3 separate regions of the Homo sapiens genome follow, and regions 1 and 3 are each linked to region 2. Evidence: promoter capture Hi-C in 16 types of primary human blood cells and fetal thymus (Javierre and others, 2016). All regions are on one chromosome and are shown on one strand. Each heading gives the region's core, a stretch centred on a gene start or on the middle of the fragment in contact. The rest is flanking DNA. Distances are from core to core; before and after follow the strand shown.

What was found. The method cuts DNA at HindIII sites, captures the fragments that hold promoters and counts their contacts. A CHiCAGO score of 5 or more calls a contact.
Region 1: a fragment that was not itself captured here is called in contact with the fragment with the promoter of ZXDA in region 2 in 1 of 17 cell types (M2 macrophages); the score reaches 5.2 in M2 macrophages.
Region 3: the fragment with the promoter of RRAGB here is called in contact with the fragment with the promoter of ZXDA in region 2 in 1 of 17 cell types (activated CD4 T cells); the score reaches 6.1 in activated CD4 T cells.

What each region holds. Positions count from the first base shown.
Region 1 is chrX:54,987,005-54,990,433 of GRCh38, reverse strand. All of the region lies in intron 1 of PFKFB1 (6-phosphofructo-2-kinase/fructose-2,6-biphosphatase 1), which reads left to right. Among named protein-coding and RNA genes, the nearest start is that of PFKFB1, 5.5 kb to the left of the region's middle. The HindIII fragment of the contact is 2,774 bases long and covers 1-2,773 here.
Region 2 is chrX:57,909,017-57,912,165 of GRCh38, reverse strand. ZXDA (zinc finger X-linked duplicated A) reads left to right here and starts at 1,708. Exons shown (of 1, transcript NM_007156.5): 1 at 1,708-3,149. The coding sequence starts at 1,746. RefSeq lists a silencer at 2,281-2,540. The HindIII fragment of the contact is 7,022 bases long and covers 1-3,149 here.
Region 3 is chrX:55,715,846-55,719,235 of GRCh38, reverse strand. RRAGB (Ras related GTP binding B) reads right to left here and starts at 1,487. Exons shown (of 10, transcript NM_006064.5): 1 at 817-1,487. The coding sequence starts at 908. RefSeq lists enhancers at 869-998, 1,159-1,358. The HindIII fragment of the contact is 6,209 bases long and covers 1-3,390 here.

The DNA.
Region 1 (3,429 bases), core at 137-2,636, 2.9 Mb after region 2:
TCCTAAGTTATGGTTTTCTATGAATTTTTCTACTTCACATAGTTTTCAAATTTATTTTGTGTAAAGTTCTTATCTTTGTATCTTTTTTATCTCTGTTGCATTTGTAGTTATAGCTTCTCTTTCATTATAATATTATTTATTTGCACCTTTTTTCTCTTGATCAATCTTGCTATAAGTTTGACACTTTTATAATTCTAAAATAATCAACTTTTGACTTTTTGATCCTTTTTTATCTTTATTTTCTATTTAACTATTTTTTCATCATTATTCTGTTTCTCCTACTTTCTTTGGATTTATTCTGTTGTTCTTTTTTAACTCATAGAGTTGCCTGCTGCTCAGCTCATTCATTTTCAGACTTTCTTCTTTTCTAATTTAAGTGTCCAATGAGATAATTGGCCTACTAAACAGGGCTGATATTCCACAGATTCACAATCGTATGGCCATATGAATTTTCAGAATATTTCTAGTCCATTTTATAAATAGGCACTCTCCCAGGCTTTTTTAGTCTCTCCAACACTTACCCAGTTACCCTGGCCACCTCAATTCCTTTCCCAGGATAGCCAGGACCTACTGATTATCATCTAGCAACTAAAGGATTAATGCCTACCACAGCAGGAGGCCTCCAGTACTTGGTGCCAGCCCTTGGACCAGCTTCTGTTTTGATAGATCAGTGCTCTTGTCATTTCTATTTTAATTCCATTCTGGTCAGAGAACAAACTTTGTATTATTTCAGTTCTTTGAAATCTGTTGAGACTTGCTTTATGGACCAACTTATGGACAATCTGGTAAATGTTCCAAGAGCACTTGAAAAGAATGTGCGTTTTACAGTTGTGTTTAGTGTACTATATACCTCGATTAAGTTGTGTTTGTTAATCTGGCTCAAATGTTCTATATTCTTCTGGGGTTTTGGCTGCCTGTTGATATGGAAAATTTGTTAATGTTTCCTTGTAATTCTGTCAATCTTGAAAGTTCGTAGTTACAAACAAATTTAGAATTGCTATATCTTCCTTGTGAATTGAATATTTTATCACCATGTAAGGAAATTATTAACTCTGGTAATACCTGGTAATTTGGTATCATTGATGTTTTTGCCCTATAATCAATCTTTTTTCTCATATTAATATACCTACATTAGCTTTATTTAGCTTAATATTTGCCTGGTATGTGTTTTCCTACATTTAAAAAATTGTTTTTGATAGAGATATAATTCACATACCATAAAATTCACCATTTTGAAGTATACAGTGGTTTTGAGTATATTCACATAGTTGTGTAACCATCACCACTAATTCCAGGACATTTTCTTTATGCCAAAAAGGAATTCCATACTCTAGACTCACTCCAGATGACCCTCTCCCCTTAGCCCCTGGCAACCACTAATCTACTTTCAGTCTCAATGAATTTGCCTATTCTGGACATTTTATATAAGGGGAATCATACAATATGTGGCCTTTTGTATCTGGCTCGTTTCTTTGGGCATGTTTTCAAGGTTAATCCATGTTGTAGCATGCAAAGTCACAAAGATATATGCCTAGGCTTTTTTCTAAGAGTTTTATAGTCTTGGCTCTTACATTTAGGTTTTTCAATTTATTCTGAGTTAATATTTGCATGTGGTGTGAGATGGGAATCCAGCTTCGTTCTTTTGCATGTGGCTATCCAGTTGTCCTAGCAGCATTTTTTGAAAAGACTCTTCTTTCCCCTACTTAATTGTCTTGGCACCCTTGATGAAAATCAGGTGACTATAAGTTGAAGGGTTTACTTCTGGGCTCTCAGTTCTATTCCATTTGTTTATATGTATCTCTACCCTTATACCAGTACCACACATTCTTGATTATTGTAGTTTAATTGTAATTTTGAAATTGGGAAGTATGTCTTCTAATTTTGGTCTTTTTCAGATTGTTTTTATGATTGTTTTGGCTATTCTAGGTCCTTTGCATTTCCATATAAATTTTAAGACCAATTTATTAATTTCTGCAAAGAATTAAGCTGAAACTTTGACAGAAGCTGCATTTAATCTATAGATTAGTTAGGGAATATTACCATCTTAACAATAATAAGTTTTAGGTCCCTGAACATGAGATGTTGTTGCATTTACTTAGGTCTTTAATTATATTCACCAATGTTTTGCAGTTTTCAGAGTGTTTTACATTTTTTAAAGTGTTCTTTTAAGCATTTTATTGTTTTGATGCTATTGTAAATAAAATTGTTTTACTTAATTTCATTTTGTTTGCTCATGGCTACTTTATAGAAATGTAATTGATTTTTATATATTGATCTTATATTCTGCAACATTGCTGGACTCATTTATTAGGTCCAATGGTGTTTTTTAGTGCATTCCTTGGGATTTTCTATATACAAGATTATGTTATCTGCAAATAGAAATAATTTCATCTCTTCCTTTCCAATCCAGATGCCTTTTATTTTCTTTTTCTTACCTAATTACCTTGGCTATAACCTCTACTAGAATGTTGAAAAGATGAGATGAAAACAGACATCCTTCTGTTGTTACTGATCTTGGCAGGCGGCATGGGAGAAACTATTCAATCTTTCACCATTAAGTGTGATATTCACTGTGGGTTTTTCATTGGTGTCTTTTATTAGGTTTAGGGCCTTTCCTTCTAGTTTTAATTTGTTGTTGGTTTTATCATGAAGGGGTATTTAATTTCCCAAATGCTTTATCTGTGCCTATTATGATGATCATTTGGTTTTTTTGTCCTTAATTCTATTGATGTGATCTGTTGCATTAATTGATTTTCAAAGGTTAAATCAAGCTTGCATTCCTATAATAAATCTAACTTGATTGTGATGTAAAAAGTATAAGTATAATATATACATATATATAATGTATACATATAAATCCTTTTATACATTCCTGGGTTCAGTTTGCTAGTGTTTTGTGGGGATTTTTACATCCATATTCACAACAGCTATTGGTCTATAATTTTCTTTTCTTCTAATATATGTGCCTAACTTTGGTAGCACGGAAATACTGGCCTCATAGAATGAGTTGGGAAGTGCTTCTTCCTCTTCTACTTTTTGAAAGAGCTTTTGAAGAATCGTATTATTCTTTAAATGTTTGTAGAATTCACCAGTGAAACCATCTAATCCTGGACTTTTCTTTCTGGCAAGGTTTTTCATTACTTATTCAACCCCTTGTTATAGATCTATTTAGATTTCATTTCTTTTTTAGTCAGTTTTGAGAGTTTGTATCATTCTAATAATTTATCTATTTCACCTAAGGCATTTATTGTGTTGGCATACAGTTTATGATTGTTCATAATATTCCCTTATAATTCTTTTTATTTTCATAAAGTCAGTAGTAATGTCTCCTCTTTTTTTCCTGAATTTATTAATTTGAGTTTTCTCTTTTTTTTCTTGGTCAGTCTCACTAAAGGTTTGTCAAGTTTATTAATTTTTTCAAATAACCAA
Region 2 (3,149 bases), core at 459-2,958:
TGAACAACATGGACGAGTCTCTCAAGTATAATACAGAGTGAAAAAAGCAAGCTATAAAAGGAAGCATGCCGTATGATTCCACTTATACAACTTCATATCAACTCTATTGTTTAGGGATGCGTACAAAAGTGATAAAGCTATAAAGGAAAGCAGTGAAATGATTATTACAAAGTCGGAGCAATTACTATATCTATATAGGAGAGTGTGGTTTGTGACTGGAAGGAGTACAGCAGCTGTATTCTGGGAGGTTGGCAGTGGTCTATTGCTTGACCTTGGTCCTGGTTAAGTAGGTGTCTGCTTTTGTAAAATAATCTAAACTATACAGATACGTTATATGCACTCTTCTAATTTCAGATTTGAAAAGTGCTTCCTCCAGAAAAAGTAATAGAAAGAAAAGTATGTGGAGTAGAAATTTTGATGAGGTTCGAATAGTTATGGTTGAAAAACTTGATTTTCAAGAGACCAAGTGTCCACTGTTATTAAAAGAGGGCGAGAGAGCTGGGAGTATTTAAACAACAGGTTACACCCCCCCACCCCCACCACCACCAATCTGTTCATCACTCTAAGCCTTCTCATCTCAGATATTTCACCCTATATTTGTGTCAATTCCAAACTCATTCGTGACAGACAAATTGGAGGATTGTCGTCATCATTAATAAGGACATTAGGCACCAAAGGCCCAGCAAGACTGGGCCACCACACTTAAATGTGAGCAGGTACACCGGGGCGAGTGGACAAGATCGTCTGTGCACATTACTTGGCAGAGTCCATTGAGTGACTGAGGGTTTAACCTTAACACATTTAACTGGAACTCCTGCCCAGAGAATGTGCTGGAGAATGCAGAATAAACTGAGCAATGCCCTCATTGTGCTATGAGAGTGGACATGAAGTTTATCATGGTACAACCGATCGTCGAAGGGCAAAGAGTTGGTTTAGGTTGTGCACTGTATAGGGAGAAGCCAGGGGCGGGTTGGGTTTTTTTCCAGATTTCAGTATAAATTGTTTCATCCTCCAGACTTTGCATTTGTAGGCTGAAGAGTGCTAATCTGTTTTGGCCGCATCTCTCACTCATTCTAATCTCTGTTATCAGCAGACAAAAATTGAACTATGTGGCAAATTGTACCGAGCACTTTGCTCAAGACAATTGTGAGTATGGAAGTTGTCCCGCGCAGAGGTGGGAAGGGGAAGGGCAATTTCCGCAGAAATGCCAGCACTATGGTGGTTTAATGCTGACACAGAGACAGTTTTTTCTCTCAGGAATTGTCTTTCATCCATCAATCCAGCCAGGTAGCCAGCCAATAAACAAATTTTAACACACAAAAAGTATGAAGCAACATGTCTAACACTGGGAGGGGCTGGCGTGTGTTTATTTGGGTATATACAATGAGTCACGGATTAAAATTGCTTTTACCAGATAGATACCTAGGTGTTCCACAGCATTATTGAACAAGATGTCGTCATTTCCCCATTACTTCAGAAGACCTCCTTAATTACTTATATTAATTGTAGAATATATTTATGCATACCAGGCTCTACCTCTGGGCTTTCTATTCCGTTCCAGAGACCCAGTACCAGAATATTTAAATCACTGTGGCGTTGAATACATTTTAATATCTGATAGGGCCAGTTTCTGCGCATTGCACATTTTTTTTTCCCCTTTCAGGAACGTGTTCAGGCCCGCGGCAGGGGGCGGGATCGCGCCTCCTCCTCGGCTCTGGTTCCAGCCGAGCCTCTCGGACGCAGAGATGGAAATCCCGAAGCTGCTCCCGGCTCGCGGGACACTACAGGGCGGCGGCGGCGGCGGTATCCCCGCGGGTGGCGGCCGAGTCCACCGAGGCCCTGACTCGCCGGCTGGCCAGGTCCCCACGCGCCGCCTCCTGCTGCCCCGGGGCCCCCAAGATGGCGGGCCCGGGCGGCGGCGCGAGGAGGCCAGCACGGCATCACGGGGCCCTGGCCCAAGCCTGTTCGCGCCGAGGCCCCATCAACCTAGCGGCGGCGGCGACGACTTCTTCCTGGTGCTGCTTGACCCGGTGGGTGGCGACGTGGAGACCGCGGGCTCCGGTCAGGCCGCAGGGCCTGTGTTGAGGGAGGAGGCCAAGGCGGGCCCGGGGCTCCAGGGGGACGAGAGCGGCGCGAACCCCGCGGGCTGCTCTGCGCAGGGCCCCCACTGCCTGTCCGCGGTTCCCACTCCGGCCCCGATCTCCGCCCCCGGCCCCGCCGCGGCCTTCGCGGGCACAGTCACTATCCACAACCAGGACCTGCTGTTGCGCTTTGAGAACGGCGTCCTCACCCTGGCCACGCCCCCACCACACGCCTGGGAGCCAGGGGCCGCTCCTGCCCAGCAGCCCAGGTGTCTGATCGCCCCCCAAGCTGGGTTCCCGCAAGCCGCGCACCCGGGTGACTGCCCAGAGCTGCGGTCCGACCTCCTGCTAGCCGAGCCCGCAGAACCCGCGCCTGCTCCGGCGCCCCAGGAGGAGGCGGAGGGCCTGGCCGCCGCCCTGGGCCCCCGCGGACTGCTGGGCTCTGGTCCAGGCGTGGTGCTGTACCTGTGCCCCGAGGCGCTGTGCGGGCAAACCTTCGCCAAGAAGCACCAGCTGAAGATGCACCTGCTGACGCACAGCAGCAGCCAGGGCCAGAGGCCCTTCAAATGCCCCCTGGGTGGCTGCGGCTGGACCTTCACCACCTCTTACAAGCTCAAGAGGCACCTGCAGTCGCACGATAAACTGCGGCCCTTCGGCTGCCCTGCGGAGGGCTGTGGCAAGAGCTTCACCACCGTGTACAACCTCAAGGCGCACATGAAGGGCCATGAGCAGGAGAACTCGTTCAAATGTGAGGTGTGCGAGGAGAGCTTCCCCACGCAGGCCAAACTCGGCGCCCACCAGCGCAGCCACTTCGAACCCGAGAGGCCTTACCAGTGCGCGTTTTCTGGCTGCAAGAAGACATTTATCACAGTGAGTGCTCTGTTTTCCCATAACCGCGCCCATTTCAGGGAACAGGAACTGTTTTCCTGCTCTTTCCCTGGCTGCAGCAAGCAATATGACAAGGCTTGTAGGCTGAAAATTCACCTGCGGAGTCACACCGGCGAGAGACCTTTCCTTTGTGACTTTGATGGCTGTGGCTGGAACTTCACCAGCATGTCCAAACTCTTA
Region 3 (3,390 bases), core at 238-2,737, 2.2 Mb after region 2:
GGAGGTACAAAAGAGCATGTTTAGTACAACGGCTGAGTACAGCTGTGTGTGTGGGACCTCAGATGAATAGAGGTCCCATTTTCCTAAATTATAAAACTGTGTGTATACTCTCTATCTCCTAATTAGAAGTTCAAGAGAGAACTCCTAGGAAGATTTATTTAGGAATACAAATGAGCCATTAAAATTCAAGATTCAATTTTTCATCATCTTAATCAAAGCAACACAGCTGCTTTAATCAAACAATATCTTCTATTTCTAAAAAAACAGAATATATTGATATCCTCTACTTGAGGACTGAGTATTGAATATCTTCTATGTATAAAAAACATTCAGCCTCCTAATTTTAAAATCTGGAAGTATCTTTTTAGTCCTTCAGCTGTCCTTCCAAGCCCTATTTCACTCATCACAGACACAAAGTAGATGTAAGTCTCAAATTCAGGTACAAATTGGCACAGAAAACACCCTCAAGCTCTGACCTGGAAATGCAAATCTTCTTTCTAGTCTTTCCATCCCCAACCTGGTGACAGCAAATCTCCTTTACTGATAATTCAAAGCAACTCATAACTGCTTTAATTAGAACACTCCCCCAGCACCACCACCAGGAATATCAGCCCCTTCCCAAGGGTTGTTTCTGATCAGTTAGCACCAATTCGCTTTCCAGTTTATCCTGTCGTCCAAAGCATAATCCCAATCAACATTACTGGTAAATCAAAGCAATTTATCATGGTGCGGGGTGGGGAGAAGTGTTCTAATTCACAATACTCTCTTCAATTTGAACACCCCCACTTCCAGGTTTCACAAATACCCTTCACCCACCCAAGCGATCCTTCCGGTTCCCCTAGTGGTGGATCCATTCTCGGCCCCAGATTTTCTTTCTCCGTCGTTTTCTCAGAGTCAGATTCTTCCATTGCGCAACAAGTCCTTTCCAGTCCCTTCTAAATCTTCAGTACTCTTCAGGGTTTGTTGTTGTTGTTTGTTTGTTTTCTTTTTCACCCCTCAACTGCCTATTCTCATCGCCTATGGCCCTCAGGCCTGCTCTATTCTTGCCTCCGCCTTTGTCCACTGGGGGGCCGCTTTCCCCACGGTTACCTTTATCTCTCGAACCTGGCCTCAAGGCACGGCCGAGCTGGCTAGCTTTAAGGCCAAGTGATTCCGTGGTACAAAGTAAGAGTTGGAGAATGACAGGAAAAGAGAGGTGGGTTAGGGGTTCGTCCCGAGTTTGGGCCTCAGGCCCCCAAGGTCTGGAAACCCAAAGGTAACTTCACCCGCAAAGAGGTGAGGACCGCGAAGGCGGAGGTGGCAGAAAGAGCTGACCCATGCCGTAGGCACTAAGCGGAGAACGCCTCAGCTGGCTCGTGGCTTCCGAGCCCGGCCGCTCGGAGAGTCAGCCGGCGGGGGCAGTAGTTACGACCTAACCACCCGCCCTTCAGGAACCCAGGTATCTCACCGCAGCCACCCAACTGCAGGCCAGGATCACGTGGGCATCTGCCTTACCCCGGAGTCTGTCACGTGACTGCCGCTACCAAAGGGACGGGTGGGCTGGGAAGAATACCATAGAGACAGCTCCAGGAAAGCCAGAGTGCCGTCTGTCATCATCACGTGGCCTTGGCTCAGGCTCCGCCCCTCGGGCGGGGTAGGGCGCTGGGAGCCTTCAGCCTCTCTAATGTGGGTGGGCCTGGCCCCACCCATCCGCTATGGAGAATTAAAGGAGCCGGTTGCAATTTCAGTGCCTCTGAGCTTCTCTTTTTTACTGCTGGTTACCGGTAATGGTTTTTGACTGGGAAGACCGAGCATTGTCTTTGCCTTCCTGCTTTTTATTGTTAATTCTTGCAATCGAGTTTGTAATTAAATGATTAATACATCCAAAGCGCTTAGAACTGTGTCTTCCACATAGCAAATACTGTATAAATTATCGTTATTGCTGAAACCAGGGATTCATCAGGAATTTTAACACACACATTCATCTTCCCACTTGTTTAAAACAGGAAGTGAAGGAAGTACCATAGTAAGAAGTCAATAAATAAAGTCTAGGGCTGGGAGTGGTGGGTCATGCCTTTAATCCCAGCACTTTGGGAGGCTGGGGAGGGAGGATCACTTGAGGCCAGGAGTTCAAGACCAACCTGGCCAACATAGCGAGACCCCATCTGTAAATAAGTGAAGTCTAGAATTGAGAACAGAAAGACTACTGGTAGGGATATGCACACCAGGAAAAATGCCCAGAGGGGTTCAAAGATGTTCCTTCTGGAGAATGGGGTAGGGGATAGGACGTGATATGTCAGGGGACTATTATTTTTTATCTGAAGCCCTTCTGTGCTATATATATTTCTATAATGTATAAATGATATATAATAATAAGATTAATATGACATTTAATTATATTTAATATAATCAACTAATACTTAAATAATATGTTATAAATATGTTATTTTAAATAAATGTGTAGTTTAATTATATTATTTATAATTAATATATGATATACTACATGTATTATTTACACGTAAGTGTGTACATATATTACTTTGATAAGAAAAAAAGGGAAGGAAGGAAGAGAAACTGCAGGAAACAGAGTACTATTATTGAAACTGCCTTTGCAAAAACTGTAACTGAGGAAATTATGACAGTGAAAGAGATCAGACCTCACCGACTCCATCTTACATCTAACCTTTAAGGTGTCCTTGTTCATTCCTGGGCGTAGGCCGAACTAACCTTGGGAAGGAATTTAGTTTATAGTTTAACTCTGATACAAAATTGATAATAGCCCTTTCTCCCTCCCGCTGCCCCCCACTAAAAAAAAACAAAAAAACAAAAAAACCTTCTTACCTGGGAACCAGTCGGCCTTTGCAGGACTAACAAATTAGCCACAAGATTACAAGATTAGAAATTACAATTCAGGGGCCATGCAGCCTCCAGCTGCAAGAGTCTGAACCTCCCCAAATTGCTCCCAGGAATAACATCACTGTTTTAAAACCTAAGATCACTGTTTGATATGTTTTGCAGACCCTGCATTCAGATGCACCAGCTTATGATACAGGAGCGGGGCAGGAAAGTGCTGGGCAGAGAAAGGCGGGTCCGTGGCTAGGGCTCCACCCTGGGGCCTGTGCCCATGGACCTAGGTGAGGATAGGCACTCCTGCCTTCCCACCCAAATGTTATATTCACCCCTAGAGGTTGCCATGGGGTCGGAGCCCCACAGCCTGCCCCTCTGCATGCTCCCCCTAGAGGTTGTGAAGCAGTGAGCCACTCCCGCTGTGGCATGCCCTGCAAGGGGGATAGGGGAACTTCCCTCGTTTCACTTACAGCACCCAGACCAGTAATCTGGCCCAGCCAGTTCTGCGATCCCACCCAGGAACAGAAGATAGCAAGAAAAACTCACTTAGAGCCCCCTATGATT